Regions from separate parts of the Homo sapiens genome. Here all the other regions are linked to region 3. Evidence: promoter capture Hi-C in 16 types of primary human blood cells and fetal thymus (Javierre and others, 2016). All regions are on one chromosome and are shown on one strand. The core of a region is centred on a gene start or on the middle of the fragment in contact, and the rest is flanking DNA. Distances in the headings are between cores, read along the strand shown. Region 1 overlaps MSH3 (mutS homolog 3). Region 2 overlaps LINC01337 (long intergenic non-protein coding RNA 1337). Region 3 holds the start of SERINC5 (serine incorporator 5).

Region 1 (2,810 bases), core at 306-2,805, 420 kb before region 3:
ATGGAATGGATAAATTATGATACACTTATATGACAATGTCATGTACTTATTTTGTTTTTAAGGGTACCTACTGAAATATTAGAGGATAAACTGATGCTCCCTAGGATTTGCTTCAAAGCCAATAATCAAGGGAGAGAGAAAAGGGGAGGGAGTGTAGAAAAATGAGAATGGTCCTGAGAAATGCTGAAGCTGGCTAATAGAGTGACAGGAGTTCATGACACTATTCTGTATAATTTTGTGTATGTTTGAAATGTTCTGCAATAAAGTTTTTAAAAATGGGGAATTGTAAAGTTAAAAAAAAAAAAACCACAGAATAGAAAAGTGATTTTGCAGCAGGAATGCAAGTTCACAAATGGAAAAAAGTGATATACACACACGGAAATAATGTGCCAAAATGTTTAACAGTCATTTTCTCTGGGTTACAGAATTCAACTTATGAATTTATCCTTTTTTTTTTGTCTTCTGAATGAACATATATTAGTTTTATAATCAGAAAAACAAATTATGAAAGCTACTTCGAAAGAAATTAAATTCAAATGAAAATGAACACAACACTAAGGACAAAGAAACATATGGAACTTCACTTAATCAATCAGTTTGATTTTCTTTTTTTTTTTTTGAGATAAGAGTCTTGCTCTTTCGCCCAGGCTGGAGTGAAGTGGTGTGATCTTGGCTCATTGCAACCTCTGCTTCCCAAGTTCAAGCGATTATCCTGCCTCAGCCTCCGGGGTAGCTGGGAATACAGGTGTCTGCCACCACACCCAGCTAATTTTTGTATTTTTTTTTTTTAGTAGAAACGGGGTTTTGGCCAAGCTGTCTTGAACTGCTGACCTCAGGTGATCCACCCGCCTCAGCCTCCCAAAGTGCTAGGATTACAGGCGTGAGCCACCGTGCCTGGCCTCGATTTTCTAAATGATTTGTCTACCTACTACATGAAAATCCTCATGGGCTTCTCTGCCTAGTCCAAAGTCCAAATTCGTCAATATACAGTCTACTTCGCTGAAGCCCCAGCACACCTTTCTGGTCTCTTTCCCACCACACTCCAGGTGGCAGTACGGAGTCTTTCCAACAAGGCACCTTCACGTTTAGCACTTAATACATCATGCCTTTAAGTCCAGTTAGGTATGCACACATCTGACTCTCATGTGAGGTTGTAAACTCTGCCAGACATATATCATAACCACATCTTCTTCCTCTGTACGCACAGCGCCTAGCACACTGCTTCATACGTAAGTGGTCTGATCTTAGATCCAGTAAACAAAACCACTGGACACAGCCATGAATTGAAACTTGCAGCACAGACAAAGCATCTCCAAAGTTACATAAACTTTGTAAGAAGTGAACTCTAAATTATCTCTAGAAACTGAAGATTACCAATAATTAAATATCATAAACCCCATAATTATCAAATAATATCATTAAATATCAGAAACCTCTTCAAAAAGACTGCCTTCTAAAGTTCTACATTAAGGTGATAGTAGGGGTAGGTGGTGTTTCTTCTATTTGTTTTTTAGATATGAGATCTCACCTTAGTTGCCCAGGCTGGTCTCAGATTCCGGGGCTCAAGCAATCCTTCCTCCTCAGCCTCCCAAGTGGCTGAGATTACATGCATGTGCCACCATGCCCAGCTTTGTTGTTTTACTTTTTTTTTTAAATTTCCACTACTACAGTGGAAATATAATTTTTGTAAGTAAAAACTATTTTTAGCAACTTTAATAAGTATCAGTTTTGGAACTAAACCTAAGTTTCAGAATCGGTATTATATTCCAGTGATGTGCCAACTTACCTAACAGATGTGGCTCTGTGGATGAGCGCCTCTGTTTGCTCGGACAAGGCCGAAGGAAGCAGCAGCTCTACTGGCTGCAGGCTTGACATCCGGGTTTCTAGCTCTGAACGAGAAGCAGAGTCCTGGAAACTATCAAACACAACCTCGCCTGTGGCAGGCTGCACTCCCTAAAAACAAATACAAATATAATGTTACAGAAAAAATGTATTTCCCCAGTTATGGCTATAACACAGCATAAACATGGAAAAAGTAAAGATGATACACTCAGGAGTATGTATGTACTCTATTTCTAAAGTGTTAGAAACCTGTCTGCTTTTCAGGACTCTTACACGAAGAGTCAGACTCACAGATATCTAAATGATACTATAAATCAGATTTCCGAGAGCCGCCCTGAATACAAGGCCTGGAGTTAATATACCTAACGGAGTGACTATGGCAAGTTACCAAACACTGCCAGGCCTCAGTTTCTTCCTCTGTAAATGGAACCAAACCAGCCTACTTCTCTCATAAGGTTATTGTAAGGATCAAATTATAAAATAAACAGGAATTATTTGTAAACTATAAAGCACTGTACAAATAGTAGTTATCACTCAAAGTAACAAGTGACATGGTCCTAGTAACCAGACCACCAGTACTGTAGTAAATTACTACTTCATACATCAAAGTAACACATAAAATGTATACTTTATCAAACTCTGAATGAAGCCCAAGTAGACAGTCTATCCAGTAGAATAATCATGCCAACTTGAACCTGCTCCCTAACATCCTAAGCCAATAATAGCAAAGATAAACTGGAAAAGATCATGGTTTGGAGAAGTGATAGGAAGTTTCTAGCCAAGGTCCCAGAGTGACAATGGAGTAGAGTCAAGATTCAAACCCAGGAAATCTGACTACTCCCCAATCCACACTGTTAGCCACTACGGATGCTTATGAAAGCCATGGGGGCTAGTTACAGGCTGCATTAGCTAAAAAGAGGAAAAATCACCAATCCCTATGTTCATATACTACTGATGGAAAGCCACTT
Region 2 (3,062 bases), core at 563-3,062, 360 kb before region 3:
GGAATGAGTGCTGCAGAGGGGCCAAGAAGAATCTGCACAGACGAATCTTGCTGGGTTGCCCCCTCTCTGGTGCCATTAAGTCACACCCTTTTGTTCAATCACAGTTCTACATGGCCACCCATTCTTCATCGAATCTAAGCATAAAAATAGACAGTTTTTCTGGGGTCTTTCAGTCTTCATTCTGAAGGCTCCTGTGTTGCATAAAACTAGGATTCAATATGTTTGTTATGCTTTTCTCTTGTTAACTTGGCTTTTATTACAGAAATGTCAACCGTGACTCTTATAATGGTTAGGAAAAGGTATCATCCCTTTCCATACCTACACAGGTGTTAACTATATCTACAAAATACTTTCATAGCAACACCTAGATTCATGATTGTTTACATCACTGAGTACTAAAGCCTGGCCAAGTCAGCAGAGAAAACTAACCATCACAGCAATCAAAGTGACAAAATGCAATTGTGCTATATGCCTCCTTGGAGTTATTCCATTTTCACATCAGAAAGTGTCTTGGGAAGAAGGCAACATTCTCTTTAAGTACTGAAGTCACATTTGTTGATCTATCAGTATGCTTAAGAGTTTGTGGTTCAGTCTAAGCAAAATGACAACCACATTCCGCAGGTTGTTGATTTGTGGTTGGGTCTTAATTGTCACCTCCTTCCCCATAGTTCAGTGATTTTTCAAGCTTAGATCAAAAATGAAAAGTGAACTCGAACTTTGAAGATTATCTTCCCTATGCTCCTGAAATTCCAGCTCAAATAGGACATCCCACTCTTGCTTTTTTATCAGTGCTTGCAGGTATTTGCAGCTTTAAAAAGCATCCTTCTGGAACATCAAATCTGAAAATATTCCAACAGCCGGCCTTCAGCTCGGCAAACTTTGAACAATGATGTCCATTGAATGCAGTTTCTCAAAATCTGTTTCTTTTCATAGCCTGTGGCTTGTGAGTGATTTCTGGGAAATGTTGATTATAAGATAAGCTCTTTTCAGTCGGTTTCAAAAGGTGACCCCCAGGGTAGGTAACTGTCAGGCAGAGGCATCTTTTCAGAGAAGCAAGAGGGTGAGCAAACTCCTCTGCCCCCGCTATTGTCGCTATTGTCGCAGCAGCATCATGAAGCTGCCCATTCAATGCATGAAAGGCTGCGCAGGCAGGGGCGTGGGATGGGATTGGGGAGCTTTGGCGTTTTGTATTTTAACTTTTCAGCACAATGTTAGAGCTGGGAGAGGGCAGGACAACAGCCCGCGTTCACAAGACCCAGCCCTCAGATCCGTCCTTGAGTCACTCTGTTAAGTGGAACCGGGTAATTGTCTGTTTGGAGACCTGCAGAAACAGCTCGTGGGAAAGAACTATTTGTACCTGGAATATAGTCATTAGCTTATGTGTCAAAAGGCCACACGTGGATAAAGCCATTATCCTGGCATTCTTTGCACTCTGGCAGCCTTGAGGCTAGCAGTGCAGAAGCCCATATGCAGGCGTGGCTGCTGTCTTCCTCTGTAGCCCCGCGGGCAAGCACTGGCAGGTGGAGGTGGTGGGAGGGCAGCCGAGACTCCCCTGGATTTGGGTAGAGAGAGAGCAGAGAAGGCGGATGCCTTGTACACACAGGCACTGTAATCAGGGCCTCTTTTCAGTTTCTTGAGACCCTCCTACTGGTCTCCATTGAATTGAGAGGGGATTTGGTTTCCCTTGCTGGCTGTCTCTGCCCACTCACATTTACAATTACATGTTTTTCATTGTCATAAAATACATGTAATATGTGCCCTTTTTTCCACGTGGACCGCCATCAAAATCTGCACAAAGACAATGCCCCTTGCCCTGAAATGGTGGAAAGAGCACTGGCCTCAGAGAGAGAAGGCTTGGGTTTCAATTCTGGGTCCCCCTTGGAATGTTCATTAAAATCACTAGTTGCAAGGAACAAACACTAGAATCACCTCATGTGATTGGGCGGGACAGGGTGTTGAGTGTCAAGATACACACACAAACCAAAACCTGAATGTGAAGGCCCCATGGCCCAGGGACCCTGCTGGGAGTCAGTTGGGGTCTCTTTCATGTATATATATTCATATATATACCAATGGATTAATCTACTCATGAATTAATGAATTAATAGATTAGTGGGTTAATAAACTAATGGATGGCTTCATAAGAAGAGGAAAACAGACCTGAGCTAGCATGCTCAGCCCCCTTGCCATGTGATGTTCTGTGCCTCCTCAGGGACTCTGCAGAGAGTCCCCACCAGCAAGAAGGCTCTCACCAGATGAGGCTCCTCAACCTTGGACTCTCAGCCTCCATAACTGTAAGAAATAAATGCCTTTACTTTGTAAACTACACAGTTTTCAGGTATTCTGTTATAAGCAACAGAAAATGGACTGTTTTCTTTGGACATCCATGAATATGGAGAGATGGAGCAAGGCTCTCTGAGGAGGAGGAGCACATGCTTGAAGAATGTGAGCCCCAGAACTGGCAGCCAATGTGAGATGGAGCTGGCCAAGGACTATAGATATGTAAAGGTCAGGGCAACACATGCTTAGACCATAAAGTGTATATATTATACCTGTCAAGGTAATCTATATTTGGGGATGAAAGTGAAGGACAACATCTCACATATTCCTGCTTTTCAGTAAAAAAGGACCTGGGAAAGTCATCATTTTTTCTTATAAACCCAGAATAATTCATAGAGAATGCTAAGAGAAAACACAATTGTTGAGGTTTACACAAGCAAGTACATTTTTTTTTAGAAGTTTCAGTCTCCATAATATATTAAAAGTTGAAAAATAGAGAAGAAAAAAAGCAAAAGCTGATAGAACAAATGAGCAAATGATATGAAGGTCACAAAATAGCCCTTAAACAGAAATGGCTCTTAAGCATATGAAAGGCTGCTTAACATCACTAAAATTAAATAAATGTCAATTAGAACTGCACCATAAAACTCAAAGCTTAACATCATTCTCAGGTATAACCCCTGTGAAGGGAAATTTGGCAAAATGAAGCACACAGCACTACTTATGTAGTCTTTTTGCCAAAAAGTTTAATCTGAGTTAAGCCTCTGAACTCAAATTTCAAT
Region 3 (3,013 bases), core at 190-2,689:
CTCTAAACGCCTGCATCTGAGATGCTGGAAAATCCTGCGCAGCTCATAACCCAAGGCCTGGTTTCCATTCACCTTTCCTCTTCTACTCCTAAGCTGCCCAAGACACTCCTTTGCCAGAGCTCTGTCTGGAAACGAGTCCCTCTAAGGTCAAGCCTTGCGTCATGTGCCAGGGGATCAGACGAGTGGATTCCAGGCCCAGTTTTACTTCCTCAACTTTGCTGTGAGGCTTTGGGCAAGTTATTTAACCTCTCTGGGCTTCAGTTGCCTCACCGCTAAAATGGGTACGGTAATGCTTATTTGAAAGAGCAAAGGGATTGGCGCAAAAATCGCACTAACAGAAATATCTTCATTCCGGCAGGGCGCGGTGGCTCACGCCTGTAATCCCAGCACTTTGGGAGGCCGAGGCGGGCGGATCACCTGAGGTCAGGAGTTCGAGACCAGCCTGGCCAAGATGGTGAAACCCCGTCTCTACTAAAAATACAAAAAATTAGCCGGGCGTGGTGGCAGGCGCCTGTAATCCCAGCTACTCGGGAGGCAGAGGTTGCAGTGAGCCGAGATCGCGTCACTGCACTCCAGCCTGGGCGACAGAGTGAAGCTCCGTCTCAGAGAAAAAAAAGAAAAAAAAAAAAGAAATACCTTCATTCCTCTTGGGGAGGTGGCTGTGAGGACAGCAGATCTGAGTGGGAGAAAACCTAGAGACGGCCTCCCTGCCTTCTGTATGGAACAAGCAATTATTGGGCACCCTCTTTTTAGTGAGGAAGCAGGGACGGAAAATGAGTCCTTGGGCCAGCGCAGGAGGAGAGGCTGGAAAACATATCAATATTCAGGAAGGCACGGAAAGGGCTCTCAATGGATCTCTCACCAAGTGCCATCAGGGCAGAACAGTCAAGGGCCCAGGGATTCGAGGAAGCTTGGGAGGCGCGGAGAGCCCAAAAGTTGAAAGTTTTCTTGGCAGATGAGGGAAGGAAAGGGATTTCAGGAACAAGGATCTCGTGGGTGGGCTGTCCCAGTCGGCGCGCGGCAGAGCGCAGACCAGCACCCGGCGGTCTGGTCTGTGCAGGAAAGGCAGGAACCGCTTACTAAGGCTCCAACCTTTTAGAGGCAGCAACAAGCTCTTTCTCTGGATCCGAAGGCGGAGAGGCGCTGCGCTCTCATTTGGCGAGGGCCCGAGCGCGGCCAGACCGCGCACCAGACCCGGAGCGTGGGGCCCAAAGGCTGGCGGCCGACTCCGGAGCTCGGCGCCCCAACCGGGAAGTGATCGCAGCAGCCCACCCGCCTGACGCCAGCGGAAGTGCGAGCCCGGGTCGAGCCTGCTCCGCCGCCGGGCGCCCGGGAAGGGGCGGGCACGGGGCGGGGCTGGGGGCGGGCGAGGCGGGGCCGGCGGCGGGGCGGGGCTTGGCCGCAGTTGTTTTTACCCAGGCCTCGGCGCCTAGGCGCTTCGCCGAGGCTGATCTTCGTTCAAGTGTGAGCTGCGGCTGAGCCCAGCGCTCGAGGCGCGAGGCAGCCAGGAGGGCCCGTGCGGCGCGGGGAGCCAGCGAGCGCGCCTTCGGCATTGGCCGCCGCGATGTCAGCTCAGTGCTGTGCGGGCCAGGTGAGCGAGGCCGGGCGCAGCGCGGGGGTTGTCAGATCGGAGAACCGGGCCAGGAGTCCAGGCGTGGAGGACCTGCCTGGGTGCGCTCCCAGCTCCGCGGCCGAACGTAGGGCCCGGGTGGGTCGCTCGGGCTGGCCCCGCGGCGCTCAGCCGTCCGGGAAATCCTGTGCCCTGGGCGGGCGGGAAGGGGCAGGGGGAAGCCCGAGAGGCTACCCCGGGGTCTTCCCGTCCGGCCTCCGGGACTCCGCGTGGAGCGGGGCGTGCCGGGCTCGGGCGGAGGATCCCGACTGCTCCAGGGGCGTGTCGCCTCTTGCGCCGAGCACTGGTGAATAGCGCTGAGCTCCGTAGCCCTCTCCACTCTGCTTGTCGGATGAATCCAGGAAGAAAAGTGGGTTTAGGCACCGTCTCCTTTGCTATGCCCTGAATAAAACTCGGGTCAAACAACCCAGGCAGGTTGCGCTTGGCATCTCGTAGTCGAGCGTGGGCTCTGTACCTTTGAGAATGTCTCGAAGCCTGACTTCCAAACTACCGGGCGCAGGTCTGGGCGAAGGGAAAACTCAGCCCTGCTTCCTGAATTTCCCGACCCAACCCTGGCTCGGTACTAGCACGACTGCCTGGGTAGGGCTGGAACCTTCCTGCCTCTCTTTGCAAATAAACTTGTTCGAACCTGTTTTTTAACTCTCGCCTATTTAAACCTATGATGTCTTAAAACATTATGTCTCCTACCAGTTACTGCATCAGTGTAGAATTAGTACGTCTTAGCCCTGTAATGCTGGTTTCACTCCTTCCTGCAGAGTTAGAAAAAACGAAGTAGGTGAGTCTCTTGGATGTGGAGCTCTTTTCTCCCTTTACATGTGGATTATCAGCGTTTCGGTACAGAGTTTTAATGGAGTGTTTTCACGAACGAATCAGACTCTAGGGAGCATCCTGGTTCGGGGTGTTCTTGCTGACACTCAGCCTTTCCACAATCGAGGCCAGCTGTAAGTGATGGAGTGGTTAAACTGTGGGTTTCTGTAACCGGCGATTATACTGGCAGATAATCTGTCCTGTTTAGAGTGGCCACGTGGAGCTGTCTTGGTTTTTGAGGTCTAATACTGTGCTTGGCATACATTAAAGCTGGCCTTTTCAGAGTTGAGGAAATTGAGGCTTTTGACGACTGAGACGAAATGATTTTTTTTCCCTGTGTCAGGCAGAGAGAGAAAGAGAATGAGAATGGTCACCACCTTACCAGGTATTTGAGAACAAGGTGGACCAGGAAAGACTGTTTTCAGAAAGCTCTGCAAATCTTTTATTCCCGTTTTGAAATACTTTTTCTCCAATATGATGCGACACTTTTTATTACGTAGTAATGATACAGCTCTTTAGGGGCATCTGTCCTGGTCCCTTGAAGTCCCCTTGAGGCTCTTTCTGCCATTCCCAAGT

What was found. Contacts are between HindIII fragments. The CHiCAGO score rates a contact against its expected background, and 5 or more counts as called.
Region 1: a contact is called between a fragment that was not itself captured here and the fragment with the promoter of SERINC5 in region 3, in 1 of 17 cell types (neutrophils). The highest score is 8.5, in neutrophils.
Region 2: a contact is called between a fragment that was not itself captured here and the fragment with the promoter of SERINC5 in region 3, in 1 of 17 cell types (neutrophils). The highest score is 5.5, in neutrophils.

What each region holds. Positions count from the first base shown.
Region 1 is chr5:80,678,070-80,680,879 of GRCh38, reverse strand. MSH3 (mutS homolog 3) reads right to left here. Exons shown (of 24, transcript NM_002439.5): 8 at 1,787-1,953. Among named protein-coding and RNA genes, the nearest start is that of DHFR, 24 kb to the right of the region's middle. The HindIII fragment of the contact is 5,096 bases long and covers 1-2,810 here.
Region 2 is chr5:80,613,767-80,616,828 of GRCh38, reverse strand. All of the region lies in intron 1 of LINC01337 (long intergenic non-protein coding RNA 1337), which reads left to right. Among named protein-coding and RNA genes, the nearest start is that of LINC01337, 7.2 kb to the left of the region's middle. The HindIII fragment of the contact is 2,249 bases long and covers 688-2,936 here.
Region 3 is chr5:80,254,474-80,257,486 of GRCh38, reverse strand. It overlaps SERINC5 (serine incorporator 5), which reads left to right and starts at 1,439. Exons shown (of 12, transcript NM_001174072.3): 1 at 1,439-1,591. The coding sequence starts at 1,565. RefSeq lists enhancers at 1-339, 340-1,273 and silencers at 1,127-1,566, 1,677-1,956. The HindIII fragment of the contact is 9,277 bases long and covers 913-3,013 here.